Regions from separate parts of the Homo sapiens genome. Here region 1 is linked to region 2. Evidence: promoter capture Hi-C in 16 types of primary human blood cells and fetal thymus (Javierre and others, 2016). All regions are on one chromosome and are shown on one strand. Each heading gives the region's core, a stretch centred on a gene start or on the middle of the fragment in contact. The rest is flanking DNA. Distances are from core to core; before and after follow the strand shown.

Region 1 (7,000 bases), core at 2,644-5,143, 240 kb before region 2:
ATCTTTCTTTAAAAATATACCTGTTCACGACTGAGGCTCAGGGAAAAGAAAAGGAAAAAAAATACCATCTACAGTAGCAACAAAATATAAGATTTTCAGAATCAATCTAACAAAAAATGTACAATATGTACAGGAGAAAATCCTGAAATGTTACTGAAAAAAATTAGGAAATATCAATAAATGGAGTGCTATATCATATTCCTGGAAGGATTCAATAGCATAACAATGTTAACTCCCCCAAAATTGATCTAGAAATTCAATTCTATTCCAATCAAAATGCCAGCAGAGTATTTGTGGGTGTGATTTGATGCTCTGATTATATAATTCAAATAGAACAACAAGGATCCAAGAATAACCAGAACAACTTTAAAGAACAAGGTGGGTGAACTACCTCTACCACATATTAAGTCTCATTATGAGATACAGTTTTTAAGACAGCCTGGCATTAGAGTAAGGACAGAAAAACAAAAGAATAAAACAACATAAAGAGAGAAACACGACAGAAAAAGAATATACAAAACAGAAACAGACCCAAACATATAAAGAAACTTGACAGGTGACAGAGCAGCATTAACTATTCCTGGACTGATTATCCATGTGGAAAAAGTTAATCAGATTTCCACCTCATACATACAAATTTATTTATATAAAATAAATTCCAGATGAATTAAACCTAAATGTGGAAAGCAAAACTTTGAAAATACAGGAATATGTAAAAACATATATGTATGATCCACATATATGATAAAATGGAGGATAGCAGGGCACAGCAGCATGCACCTGTAGTCCTGCCTCAGCCTCTTTAGTAGGTGAGGTAGCTGAGGCAGAAGAATCACTTGAGCCCAGGAATTCGAGGCCAGCTTGGGCAACATAGCAAGACCCAGTCTCTAAAAACAATTTAAAAAGTTTACAAAAAAGAATAATAAGGCATAAAAGGGTTTCTTAAAAAGCACAAACAATAAAGAAAATCCTGATAAATTCAGTAACATTAAATTTAGAAACTCACGTCTAACAAAAGACACTAATTTTGAAAAGTCAAAGATGGGCCACTGACCTAGAGTAAACATTTGCAAAACATAAAGCTATCAAGGATTATTATCTAGAATGAATATATGTATAATTATACTAGAATGAATATATATATATATACACACACACACACACACACACATACACACACACATTTTTTTCTACCAATCAATAAGAAAAAAAGATTATAGAAACATTGGCAAGGGATATAAACAGGTAATTAACAGAAGAGCCTGGCATTAGAGTAAGGACAGAAGAAGAGATGGATGGATGGTCAATGAACATGAGAAATATACTTCCTTTCACTGGTAATCAGGAAAATGAAAGAAACAAGATACCATAACCCAGTGAATTTACAAAAATCTTAAAGTTTGACAATAACAAATGTTGACAAAGATGCTGAGTTATGGAAACTCTCAAACCCTGTTAATGGGAGAATAACCTGGTGTAACTGCTTTGAAGAGCAAATTGGTAATACCTAGCAAAATGAAAGTGCATATATTCTACAACCCAACAATTTTGCTTCTACCAGCTATCTTAGAGAAACACTTGCATTATGTATACAAGAAGTTATGTACACAAAGGTTTGCTGTAGCATCTTTGTAACTCCCAAATTTGGAAACAATGTAAATGTCTATCAACAGGAAAATGAATAAGAACATTGTGGTTTATTAACTCAATGGATTGAATGAACTAGAATAACATACTGAGGAATATCACCAGTGTTGAATGAGAAAAGCAAAAGGAAGAAGTATATATACCATTTATTTAAAGAAAGAGAACATGCAAAACAATGCTATATATTGTTTAGTATGTATACACTGATATATAGACTGCTTTTACTACATTATACATGTAATAAAAGCACGAAGACATGGGAATAATATTTCAATGCAGAGTGCTTATTTCAAAAGGTGTAAGGGGGACAGTGGAGCTTCAACTGTGTTTCATTTCTTAGTCTAGGTGGAAGCTACACAGAAATGTGTTATAATGTTTTCTATGCCTTTCTGAGTGTCTAAAATATTTCAGAATAAAAAGCAAAGTTTGAGGAGATTGTTAGGGACCCCGACATTTGGTTGAGAAGGAATCCTTTGGTAATTTCTCTTACAGGAGTTTTCATAAGTAGCTGTTACAAAAAAGATACATAAGTTAAAAAGAGAATGAGAATCGAAGCTGGAATTGTAAAATGAACATTGGCAAGAAGTAAAAATGGAGTGCAGGAAAATTAAAGATTTGTAGAATGCAATGGGAGTCTTGGAAAGAGATTGGTTTTCTGTGAAAATACCACATACATTTGACTGCTTAGAGAAAGCTTTAGATTGGCAGCCCTTAGGATACTGGAGAAAGGGAAAATCCAGCTCAACCTTAATGAGGACAAGACTGCTCTTTCCTCCAACTCCAGGGGACTTTTGCAAGGGCTCAGTGAAGGAAAGGGGTAAGGAAGGGACGGGTGATATTAGTTTAGTGGAGGCTCTGTCCAGTGGTCTGAGCCCTCCCCACAGCCGAGGCTTTGAGCACTCTGACCTACATATTAAAATTCCATCTGCCTTGGTGATTTGGTTTGAATATTTATCCCCTCCAAATCTCATGTTGAAATGTGATCCCCAGTGTTGCAGGTGGGGCCTGGTGGGAAGTGTTGGGTCATGGGGGTGGATCACTCATGAATGAGTGTCCTCCCCATGGTAATGAGTTCTCACTCTGAGTTCACATGAGATCTGGTTGTTTAAAAAGCCTGGCACCAGCCTGGCGCAGTGGCTCACACCTGAAATCCCAGCACCTTGGAAGGCCGAGGTGGGCAGATCACAAGGTCGAGATCAAGACCATCCTGGCCAACATGGTGAAACCCTGTCTCTACTAAAAATACAAAAATTAGCTGAGCGTGGTGGCGCATAACTGTAGTCCCAGCTACTCGGGAGGCTGAGGCAGGAGAATCGCTTGAACTCCAGAGGCGGAGGTTGCAGTGAGCCAAGATTGCGCCACTGCACTCCAGCCTGGCGACAGTGCGAGACTCTGTCTCAAAAAAAAAAAAAAAAAAAAAAGAAAAAGAAAAAGAGCCTGGCACCTCCTCCTTCACTCTCATGCTCCAGCTCCCACCATGTGATATGCCTTTCACCATGATTGTAAGTTTCCTGAGGCCCTCACCAGGAGCAGATGCCAGTGCCATGCTTCCTGTACAGCCTGCAGAATCATTAGCCAATTAAACTTCTTTTCTTTATAAATTATGAAGTTTCAGGTATTCCTTTATAGCAACACAAAAACAGACTAACACACTTGGTCTCACCTGAACTGGGATCTCCTGGGCCTTCTTTCTCTGCCATCCATGGCTCTTCTCCTTTCTCTAACTGGGATATCACACTAGGTTTGGAAAGTTGATATCCTGCTTATGTAGTAAAAAAAACAGTGTGAATGTTTATGCTGATGTCTAAGAACCATCCTCAGAATTTTGAGTCTTCTGGTATTCAGGGTCTCCACAAGTGGAAAGGGGTGGGTCTTTCTATCCTAACTATGTGTAGTAAAGTTGTTCCCCAAGAAAGTCAAATTGGATATGCCCTCACTTGGTTTTCAAAGGGAATAAGACATCTTTAATACAGAACCCAAATCAAGCCTCAAGGAATCTACACATCAATAATTTAAAATAATGACTCTCCTGTAATGGGTGGGTTTCTGGATGCATGGATAGCCAAGTCTTACCCACTGACACCAAGTTGCTGTAGTTCTCCAGCATCACCTCTCGGTATAGATTCTGGTGAGCAGGAGCCAGCTGCCCCCACTCTTCCTGGGTGAAGTCAATAGATATGTCCTTGAAAGTCAACAATTCCTAGAACATCAAATACATTCATTTTTAGCCGGAGACCACCTCTGTTAAGTTCCAAGGAGTTCTGACAGTATTCTAAATTCTGAGAGATTCTAAACTTACTTTTATCAGGAGCCTTCTCTGGATCTGTTTGGAGATCCTCTGATCTCCAAATCTGATCAACAAAACTGTCTGGAACTGTAGTCTGTCTGGATCTCTAATCTGGAGATTACTATAAATAATGTAATATATAGAAAGACAGATGGTGATACATACCTTAGAAAAAAATTAAGCAGGATAAGAGACATTGGGAGAACCACAGTGAGGGTAGGATGATCTTTTATGTAAAGTGGTTGGGGAAGACTCTCTAAAAGGGTGATGTTTGACCGGAGACATAAATTCAGTAAAGGGAAGAACCACATGGAAATCTGAGAGAAGAGCATCCTGGGCAGGTGCAAAGGACCTAAGGTGACAGTGTCCTTGGCTTGAGGAACAGGAAAGTGAACAGCATGGCTGGAGGTAGGCTGGTTGATGAGAGAGTGGAAAGAAATGAAATCAAGAGAGGTGGAGATGAGGAACAGGGTGGGATAGGGGTTCCCCCACCACCTCACGCACTTATTGTCACAAAGACCTGTGCATTCTTACTGAACTTGAATTCTGAGGCCCTGCTGGAGTTTAATGCAAAAATGAACAAAACTGTCTGGAACTGTAGTCTAATCCCTTCCTAAGCTCAAATGCCAAAAAGATAAAAAGAAAAGCCCTCAGCAATTGTGGCATGGGCTAATCAGAAGTATACTCAATCAAATTAAAGCTGCATGATAGCCAGAGCTCAGCCACAGCTCTAGGAGGAGCCCCTCACCTTAACCACCAGAGAGACGAAAGGGTTTGGAAATAGAACAAATCAAAACACATGAATAAACTATGTGTGTGTGTGTGTGTGTATACATACAAAACACACACATGTATGTATGTATATACACATGCACTCCTGCCTTGGCCCCTCAAAGTGTTCGCATTACAGGCATGAGACACCGTGCCCGGCTTAGAGATCACTTTTTTTTTTTTTTTTTTGAGACAGAGTCTCACCCTGTTGTCCAGGCTGGAGTGCAGTGGTGCGAGCTCAGCTCACTGCCACCTCCCGGGTTCAAGTGATTCTCCTGCCTCAGCCTCCCAGGTAGCTGGTATTACAGGCGCACGCCACCACGCCCAGCTAATTTTTGTATTTTTAGTAGAGACCGGGTTTCACCATGTTGGTCAGACTGGTCTCGAACTCCTGGCCTCAGGTGATTCGCCCACCTCAGCCTCCTGAAGTGCTGGGATTACAGGCGTGAGCCACCGCGCCCGGCCTGAGAGATCACTTTTTACTGTGATATGCAATTTACCGGAGAGATGAAGTGCTAATGCAGAGATGCTTAGCATCACACTGAATTTTAAGTAAATACTTGAAACACCTGAGCGCACTACAATAGCCACAGGAGATAGCTATAAAATTATCATACTAATACACTAGGTGTACTATAGTTTATTTTATGCAGTAGTGATTTAATACTGCATCTTTACATTTGTTTACATTTCTCTCAACTGAGAATGGCACCATGAATAGTCTGTGCACATAAGCTTTGAAAATTTTTAACTTTTTATAATAGATACGTGTATCTCTTATGGTAGTAAATGATAAAATAGACTAGTACCTACATATATTTTATGTATTCATAACATACCTAACTTTTTCTTAATTTTTTTGATACTCCTAGGCTACATGGTCCATCTGCAAGTTTTTTCAAATTGTCACAAATCTCCAAAAAATGTTTCAATATATTTATTGAAAAAAGTCTATATAGAAGTGGACCTGCACAGTTCAAACCTGCGCTGCTCAAGAATCAACTGTAGGCCGGGCGCAGTGGCTCATGCCTGTAATCCCAGCACTTTGGGAGGCTGATGCGGGCGGATCATGAGGTCAAGATATCAAGACCATCCTGGCCAACATGGTGAAACCCTGTCTCTACTAAAAATACAAAAATTAGCTGGGCATGGTGGTGCATGCCTGTAGTCCCAGCTACTCGGAAGGCTGAGGCAGAAGAATCACTTGAACCCGGGAGGCGGAGGTTGCAGTGAGCCGAGATCTCGCCACTGCACTCCAGCCTGGTGACAGAGCAAGACTCCATCTTAAAAAAAAAAAAAAAAAATCAACTGTAAATGAAAATTCTACAAGTGAAAAAGACAATATCTAAAAATTCATTGGATGGGCTTAAAGTAGATTAGACCATGATGAGATAAGATCAGTGAAACTTAAGATGGGTCAATAAATATTATTCAAACTAGAGTACCAAGAGAAAAAAATCTGTGGGATAATATCAAGTGGTCTATTATACATGTAATTAGAATCTCAGGGCTAGGTGGGATGGCTCCTGCCTGTAATCCTAGCACTTTGGAAGGCCAAGGCAGGAGGACTGCTTGAGCTCAAGAGTTTGAGACCAGCCTAGGCAACATAGGAAGACCCTGTCTCTACAAAAAAAAATACAAAAATTAGCCAGGCATGGTGGCGCACACTTGTAGCCCCAGCTGCTCAGGAGGCTGAGGCAGGAGGATCACTTAAGCCTGAGAGGTAGTGGTGGGAGGGAGGGAGGGAGGGAGGAAGAAAGGAGGGAGGGAGGGATGGAGGGAGGGAGGAAGGGAAGGAAGGAAGGAAGGGAGGGAGGGAGGAAAGGAGGGAGGAAGGGAGGAAGGGAAGCAGGGAGGGAGAAAGAGCAATCTCAGAAGAGGGAATAGGTAGAAAAAATATTTGAAAAATAATGGCTGAAGATTTTCCAAACTAATAGGAAAAAAAATCAACCCACAGATCCAAGAAGCTCAGCAAACCCCAAAAAGGATAAACTCAAAAATCACAGCAAGGCACAGTGGCTCATGCCTGTAATCCCAGCACTTTGGGAGGCTATGGTGGCAGATCACTTGAGGTCAGGAGTTTGAGACCAGCCTGGCCAACATGGTGAAACCCCATCTCTACTAAAAATACACAAAATAAAAAATAAAATAAAATAAAATAAGGCGGGTGTGGTAGTTTACATCTGTTATCCTAGCTACTTGAGAGGCTGATGTGAGAGGATTGCTTGAACCCAGGAGGTGGAGGTTGCAGTGGGCCAAGATCATGCCACTGCACTCCTGCCTGGGTGACAGAGC
Region 2 (6,373 bases), core at 152-2,651:
ATCCTCACAATACACATATATATGCGCATGCGCGTACACACACACACACACACACACACACACACACACACACACACACACATTCCTGTTCAAGATTTAGGTCAGTTGGTTTGCATTAAATGAGATTTTGGAGAAGAACTGAATTTCAAATCCTAAAAATTCGATTCAAACTCCAATTTTGCCAGCTCTTACAAACTATGTGAACTTGGGTGGGTAGCAATCAAGTTCTCTCATCTACAAAATGGAGCAAATAATCTCTCCCTGACTGTTATGCAGGATTGTGATGGTTTAAAATAGAAAGGCCCCGTGACCATGATTACTAAACAATAGTGACATATGAAAATAAGTGAATGCTAAAAAATGATCCAATAACAACTTCTCTCTGCATTTATCAAGTAAACTTGTCACTCTAAGAAAGCCGTTTTAAAAGCCTGTCACCTTAAGTTTCCACTGAACCTCAGTGCACCTCAGTTTCTTCACTTGTCATGTGAAAATAATCTCCATCCATTTCATGGAATTTTTGAGATTCTCAAAGCATTCAACTATATTGTATGTCAACTATTATTATTGGTGACTACACAGAAGTATGTAAAATCCTGTCTCTCACAATCCCAGCCAGTTAAATTCCTACTCCCCAAAGAGCTCCTATATACTTATGGAGCCTTATCTTGTCAAAACACAATAATGAACACATTGTGATGACTTAATACATATGCCTCCTTATCAGTTACAGAACAATGGCATAGTAAGAAAGGCCATACTCATGATCCTAGCTACTTTGGTGCCTATTGTATAAACATAGTAGCACTCAAAGATGAATAAGTGATCAAAAATTTTTGAGGGTAAGGCTGTCTTTTCAGGTTACCAACATGTTTGGTCTATTTTATTACAGAAGACAAGCCAAAGACCATTGTGAGAAAAGCATTTTTATGCCCAAAGCCTAATTGGTGGAGATTTTCAAGGATAACCTAGTTTTTGCCAACTTAAGAGACAAAGGTTCGCCTTTGCACATCTGCATGATCTTAAAACTGGTGGCAGCAATATGGGAGAGAACTAATCAAATTTCAATTTATAACTATATAAATGTTTGTAACAAAAGAGTATAACCTGAATTGACTGAATACTTCGTTTCCATAAGGCATATATTCCTATTCCCAATAAAATCAAGAAAGAAATCCTCAAGATGATTTGCACAGCTGGAGCAAGATTATCTAATAGTCCCAAACTTGTTTGCTGAGGTGCACTAGTCTCTCCCAAAAAACTTGCTTGTATCCAATTCCATACTGTGCTGAGAGAGAGAGACTCTAAGAGGTTGTCCCAGCTAGAAGATGAAGATGTTGACATTTTAATAAGCAGCAGCTCTAGGAACTACATGTGCAGAAGCTTCAGGAATCTAAATATGAGTTAGGGGGAGTAGTCTGGAGGCCTAGGTATTCCAGAGCCATTGTGAGCTGTGCTTTGTGATGTCACTGTTCCAAAGGTCAGCTTGCTTCCCACTCACCCAACCAATGAATCTTACTCAAAACCAACCAGGCACCGGCCTGGGTTTTCAGTTCATTCATATTGCTTTGTCTGATCTTTGGCTAGTTCTGGCTCTAGCATAGTGCTGTCCAGTACAACTTTTTGCAATAATGAAAATGTTCTTTATCTGCCATGTCCAATATGGTAACCACTAGTTACCTGAAATGTGAATAGTGCAGCAGAGATTGCATTTTACATTTTAACTAAATTTGGCTGGGCATGGTGGCTCACGCCTGTAATCCCAGCACTTTGGGAGGCTGAGGCAGGTGGATCACTTGAGCCCAGGAGTTCGAGACCAGCCTGGCCAACATGGTGAAATCTTGTCTCTACTAAAAATACAAAAATTAGCCTGACGTGGTGGTGCACACCTGTAGTCCCAGCTACTTGGGAGGCTGAAGCAGGAGAATCACTTGAACCTGGGAGGCAGAGGTTGCAGTGAGCTGATGTTGTGCTCCAGCCTTGGTGACAGAACGAGACTCCATCTAAAAAAAAAAAAAAAAAAGTTAAATAGCCACCTGTGGCTAGTGGCTTCTCTCTTGGTTAGTGTAGATCTACATTTCCAACAATTCAAATGGACAGCAGCTGTTGCAGCTGTTTTCACATAATAAAAAAAACTGAGTTGTATTGAGGTTGAATGGAAATGTGAGGAGATGGGATTTTTTATTTTTATTTTTTTGAGCTGGCGTGTCACTCTGTCGCCCAGGCTGGAGTGCAGTGGTGCGATCTCAGCTCACTGCAACCTATGCCTCCTAGGTTCAAGCGATTCTCCTGCCTCAGCCTCCTGAGTAGCTGGGATTACAGGCGCCCGCCACCACGCCTGGCTAATTTTTTGTATTTTTAGTAGAGATGGGGTTTCACCATTTTGGCCAGGCTGGTCTAGAATGCCTGACCTCAAGTGATCCACCTGCCCTGGCCTCCCAAAGTGCAGAGATTACAGGCATGAGCCACTGCACCCAGCAAGGAGGTAGGATATAAACAGGGCTTTTTTTTTTTTTTTTTTTTTTTTTTTTTTTTTTTTTTGAGGCGGGGTTTTGGTCTCGCCCTGTCTCCCAGGCTGGAGTGCAGTGGCGCAATCTTGGCTCACTGCAACCTCTGCCTCTGGGGTTCAAGCGATTCTCCTGGCTCAGCCTCCTGAGTAGCTGGGATTACAGGCATGTGCCACCACGCCTGGCTAATTTTTTTATTTTTAGTAGAGACGGGGCTTTACCATGTTGGTTAGGCTGGTCTCGAACTCCTGACCTCGTGATCCACCCGCCTAGGCCTCCCAAAGTGCTGGGATTACAGGCGTGAACCACCACACTCGGCCTTCAGTTTACCTTTAATAGTGGCATCCACCCACTCATCTGTCAGTCACTTCCACTCAGTAGTCTTCCATATCATGCCCTATTAGGACTTACTGACTTAGGCAATGCCTACTTTCAAGCCTTTGGTAAATTCTTTTTTTTTTTTTTTTTGAGACAGGGTCTCGCTCTGTTGCCCAGGCTGGAGTGCAGTGGTGCGATCTCAGCTCATTGCAACCTCTGCCTCCTGGGTTCAAGCGATTCTCCTGCCTCAGCCTCCTGAGTGGCTGGGACTACAGGCACGTGCCACGCCTGGCTGATCTCTGCATTTTTAGTAGAAATGGGGTTTCACCATATTGGCCAGATTGGTCTCGAACTCCTGATCTCAGGTGATCCTCCTACCTTGCCCTCCTAAAGTGCTGGGATTACAGGCATGAGAAATAGCACCCAGTCCGCCTTTGAAAAATTCTTATAGGTTCTTCATTGTCTTTCAAACAAAATCCAAAATCTGTAACATGGCTAACAGGGCACTAAAATGCCTGGTCCCTGCTTACCTACCAAGTCTTCTCTTCCTCTGCCATTTGTTCTTTCAACTCCAGCTATAGTAGTCTTATCAATGTCACCAACACACCAAGCTGTTGAACCACAAAGCTTTGGCACATAATTGGATTACTCTTGTTCTTTGCCTAGCTTCCCCCTCCTCCCCCAGCTTGGAGGTCAATGCCTATTCACAGGTGCGATTATTGCACAGTACAGCCTCTAACTCCTGGGCTCAAGTGATCCTCCTACCTCAGCCTCCCGAGTAGCTGGGACTACAGATTATTGCCTGGCTAACTTCTATTGATTCTTTAGGTTTCAGTTTAAACATTATCCTCAATGAAGCTTTTGCTGTCCTTTTTTGGTCCCCTTCTCATAAGCCCCTCCACCCCCCCTGTTTAAAAGCACTTTTACTTTATTATTTGTACTGTTTTAATGTCTGTCTTCCCTACTGGATTATTTTTTTTGTTGGGGGTGGGGAGGTTGGGGGCACAGGGTCTCACTCTGTTGCCCAGGCTGGAGTGCAGTGGCCTGATCTTGGCTCACCGCAACCTGTGCCTCCTGGGTTCAAGCGGTTCTCCTGCCTCAGCCTCCCTAGTATCTGGGATTACAGGCGCATGCACCACTACAGCGCGGCTAATTTTTGTATTTTTAGTAGAGACAGGGTTTCACCATGTTAGCCAGGCTGGTCTCAAACTCCTGACCTCAAATATCCTCCTGCCTGTGCCTCCCAAAGTGCTGGGATTACAGGCATGAGTCACCGCACCCAGTCCCTTACTGGATTCTTAAATCTCTATGATGCAGGAAATGAGTCTTGTTCAACACCTACCACCCAGGGGCTAGCAGATGGTATATGCTTTGTAAATATTTGGCTTCTTAACCATTTAGATAGCTTTCCTACGCCTCTGGTCTTTTTTTTCAGGTTATACCTGTCAAATACATGCTGACAGATTTTTAAATCTCTTGCCTATCCTGGTTACCTTCCCCAGAGTGAATCAAACCTCCAAATGCAGTCTGTCACAGAAGCCACTCCTGCAGGAGTAGACCAAGAAGGTCACAGAGGGATAGGCCACTCTCTCTAGACACAGTTCTATATAATAGGGTATAAAATCAGTAGTATAAAGCCAGGAGGTATCACAGTTTACCTTGGGGTAGGAGGTGAGGAGGAGCAACTTTTCTGAGTTTTAGAAGTTTCTGGCCGGGTGCAGCGGTTCATGCCCGCAATTCCAGCACTTTGGGAGGCTGGGGTGGGAAGATTGCTTGGGCTCAGGAGTTCAAGATCAGCCTGGGCAACCTAATGAGACCTCGCCTCAAAAAATAACAAAAATGAGTAAGTTTCTTTCAGAAAAGAAAACTTGCCTTTTTCGTAGGTTACATGTTATTCACAGAAAAAAATATGCACGTTTCCCATCTCTATACTCAAATGAAGAAATGTCAGCACCATATGACTGTGGAGTTTGAGTTGAATAACCTGGCTTTCACCTACACTTCAAATTGTATTTCCCACTATTCACCTTCACAAACAACACTCACATTACAGAACTGTGGTATTTTTGGTACTTCAAATACCACCTGCAACTTTCCATCTGTTATTCCTTTACACTAAATGTCCCTCTCTGACATTCTTCTAGTCAGAAGAGATTGGAAACTGGGCTCCACCTCTATTTGTGCCAGCCAGGCAAGACACTTCATCTCGTTCTTTGTCAAATATAGTAACAGCACCTACTTCATAGGATTATGAAAATTCAACAACATAATTTTATGTAAAATGCTAAAAAGCACAATTACCCTGAATTCTCACAGTACTTTCCACTTCCAGGCCAGTGCTTCTAGAACTTTTCTGTGCCTAAGAATCACCTGGAGATCTTACTAACACGCACATTTTGGTCCAGTAGGTCTGGAGTAGGGCCTGAATTTATGCATTTTTATTAATAACAATCTCCTAGGTGACACCTATACTGCTGGCCCACTACCACACTTTAAGTAACAATGTTCTGAGATACTCCAGCCCTCCCTTCACCTTGTGAAAGCTTCTTGATGGCCCTGACAACTTTTTTTTTTTTTTGTCTCCCATTGCATCTGGAATTGTATCTCTTTAAATGTGTGTATTTAAATATTTGGTGAATGATTATGTCTTAGGCAGTTCAGCTCAGTAGGCCTTTTGGGACTGAGAAAGGATAGATTGAGAATGGAATACCCTGAGGAAGGCTAATAAAAAACTTTCTCCTCCACAGTTCCTTACCCTATTTCACACATGGGCTCATGAAAATGGGGAAAACACTGAAGCAAGAGAATTCTGGGTAAAGGCAAGAATAGAAGTGTCTGGAAGTCTTCATTCCTACTCACCATTTTGGAGGCACTCTTGAATTGAAAAAGCTTTGAAAACAAAGTCAGTGCTTTCAGGTCTGTGCCAGGGTTGGGACAAATTCCAGAGATATCAAGTTAAAATGATTACTACAAGCTAAAAAAATAACCCTTTGCCCTGTATTATCGTATAGTCACTCATGCTGGTTTAAACAGGAAAGTCTTTTTTTTTTTTTTTTTTTGAAATGGAGTCTTGCTTTGTTGACCAGGCTGGAGTGCAATGGTGCAATCTCAGCTCACTCCAACTTCCACCTTCAGGGTCCAACAGCGATTCTCCTGCCTCAGCCTCCTGAGTAGCTGGGATTACAGGCATCTGCCACCACACCCAGCTAATTTTTGTATTTTTAGTAGAGACGGGGTTTCTCCATGTTGGTCAGCCTGGTCTCAAACTCCTGACCTCAGGTTACCTACCCGCCTCAGCCTCCCAAAGTGCCAGGATTACAGGTGCGAGCCATCGCGCCCAGCCAAAAGTCTTTAATAAAGATCAAATGATGCAAGCTGCTCTAACTGGGATAGACAGTGATCTTGGGATCAACTACTTAGGCTTATACTTGAATTATTTTACTTTTTTTGAGACAAGTCTCGCTCTGTCACCTGGGCTGGAGTGCAATGCCGCGATCTCGGCTCACTGCAACATCCGCCTCACGGGTTCAAGCGATTCTCCTGCCTCA

Evidence for each region. The method cuts DNA at HindIII sites, captures the fragments that hold promoters and counts their contacts. A CHiCAGO score of 5 or more calls a contact.
Region 1: a contact is called between a fragment that was not itself captured here and the fragment with the promoter of TMCO2 in region 2, in 1 of 17 cell types (naive B cells). The highest score is 5.1, in naive B cells.

Annotation. Positions count from the first base shown.
Region 1 is chr1:40,485,935-40,492,934 of GRCh38, reverse strand. ZFP69 (ZFP69 zinc finger protein) reads right to left here. Exons shown (of 6, transcript NM_001320179.2): 4 at 3,721-3,847; 5 at 3,311-3,406. EXO5-DT (EXO5 divergent transcript) reads left to right here. Exons shown (of 2, transcript NR_187365.1): 2 at 1-1,910. Among named protein-coding and RNA genes, the nearest start is that of ZFP69, 12 kb to the right of the region's middle. The HindIII fragment of the contact is 3,099 bases long and covers 2,344-5,442 here.
Region 2 is chr1:40,242,965-40,249,337 of GRCh38, reverse strand. It overlaps TMCO2 (transmembrane and coiled-coil domains 2), which reads right to left and starts at 1,401. Exons shown (of 2, transcript NM_001008740.4): 1 at 1,108-1,401. The coding sequence starts at 1,344. The HindIII fragment of the contact is 2,069 bases long and covers 1,386-3,454 here.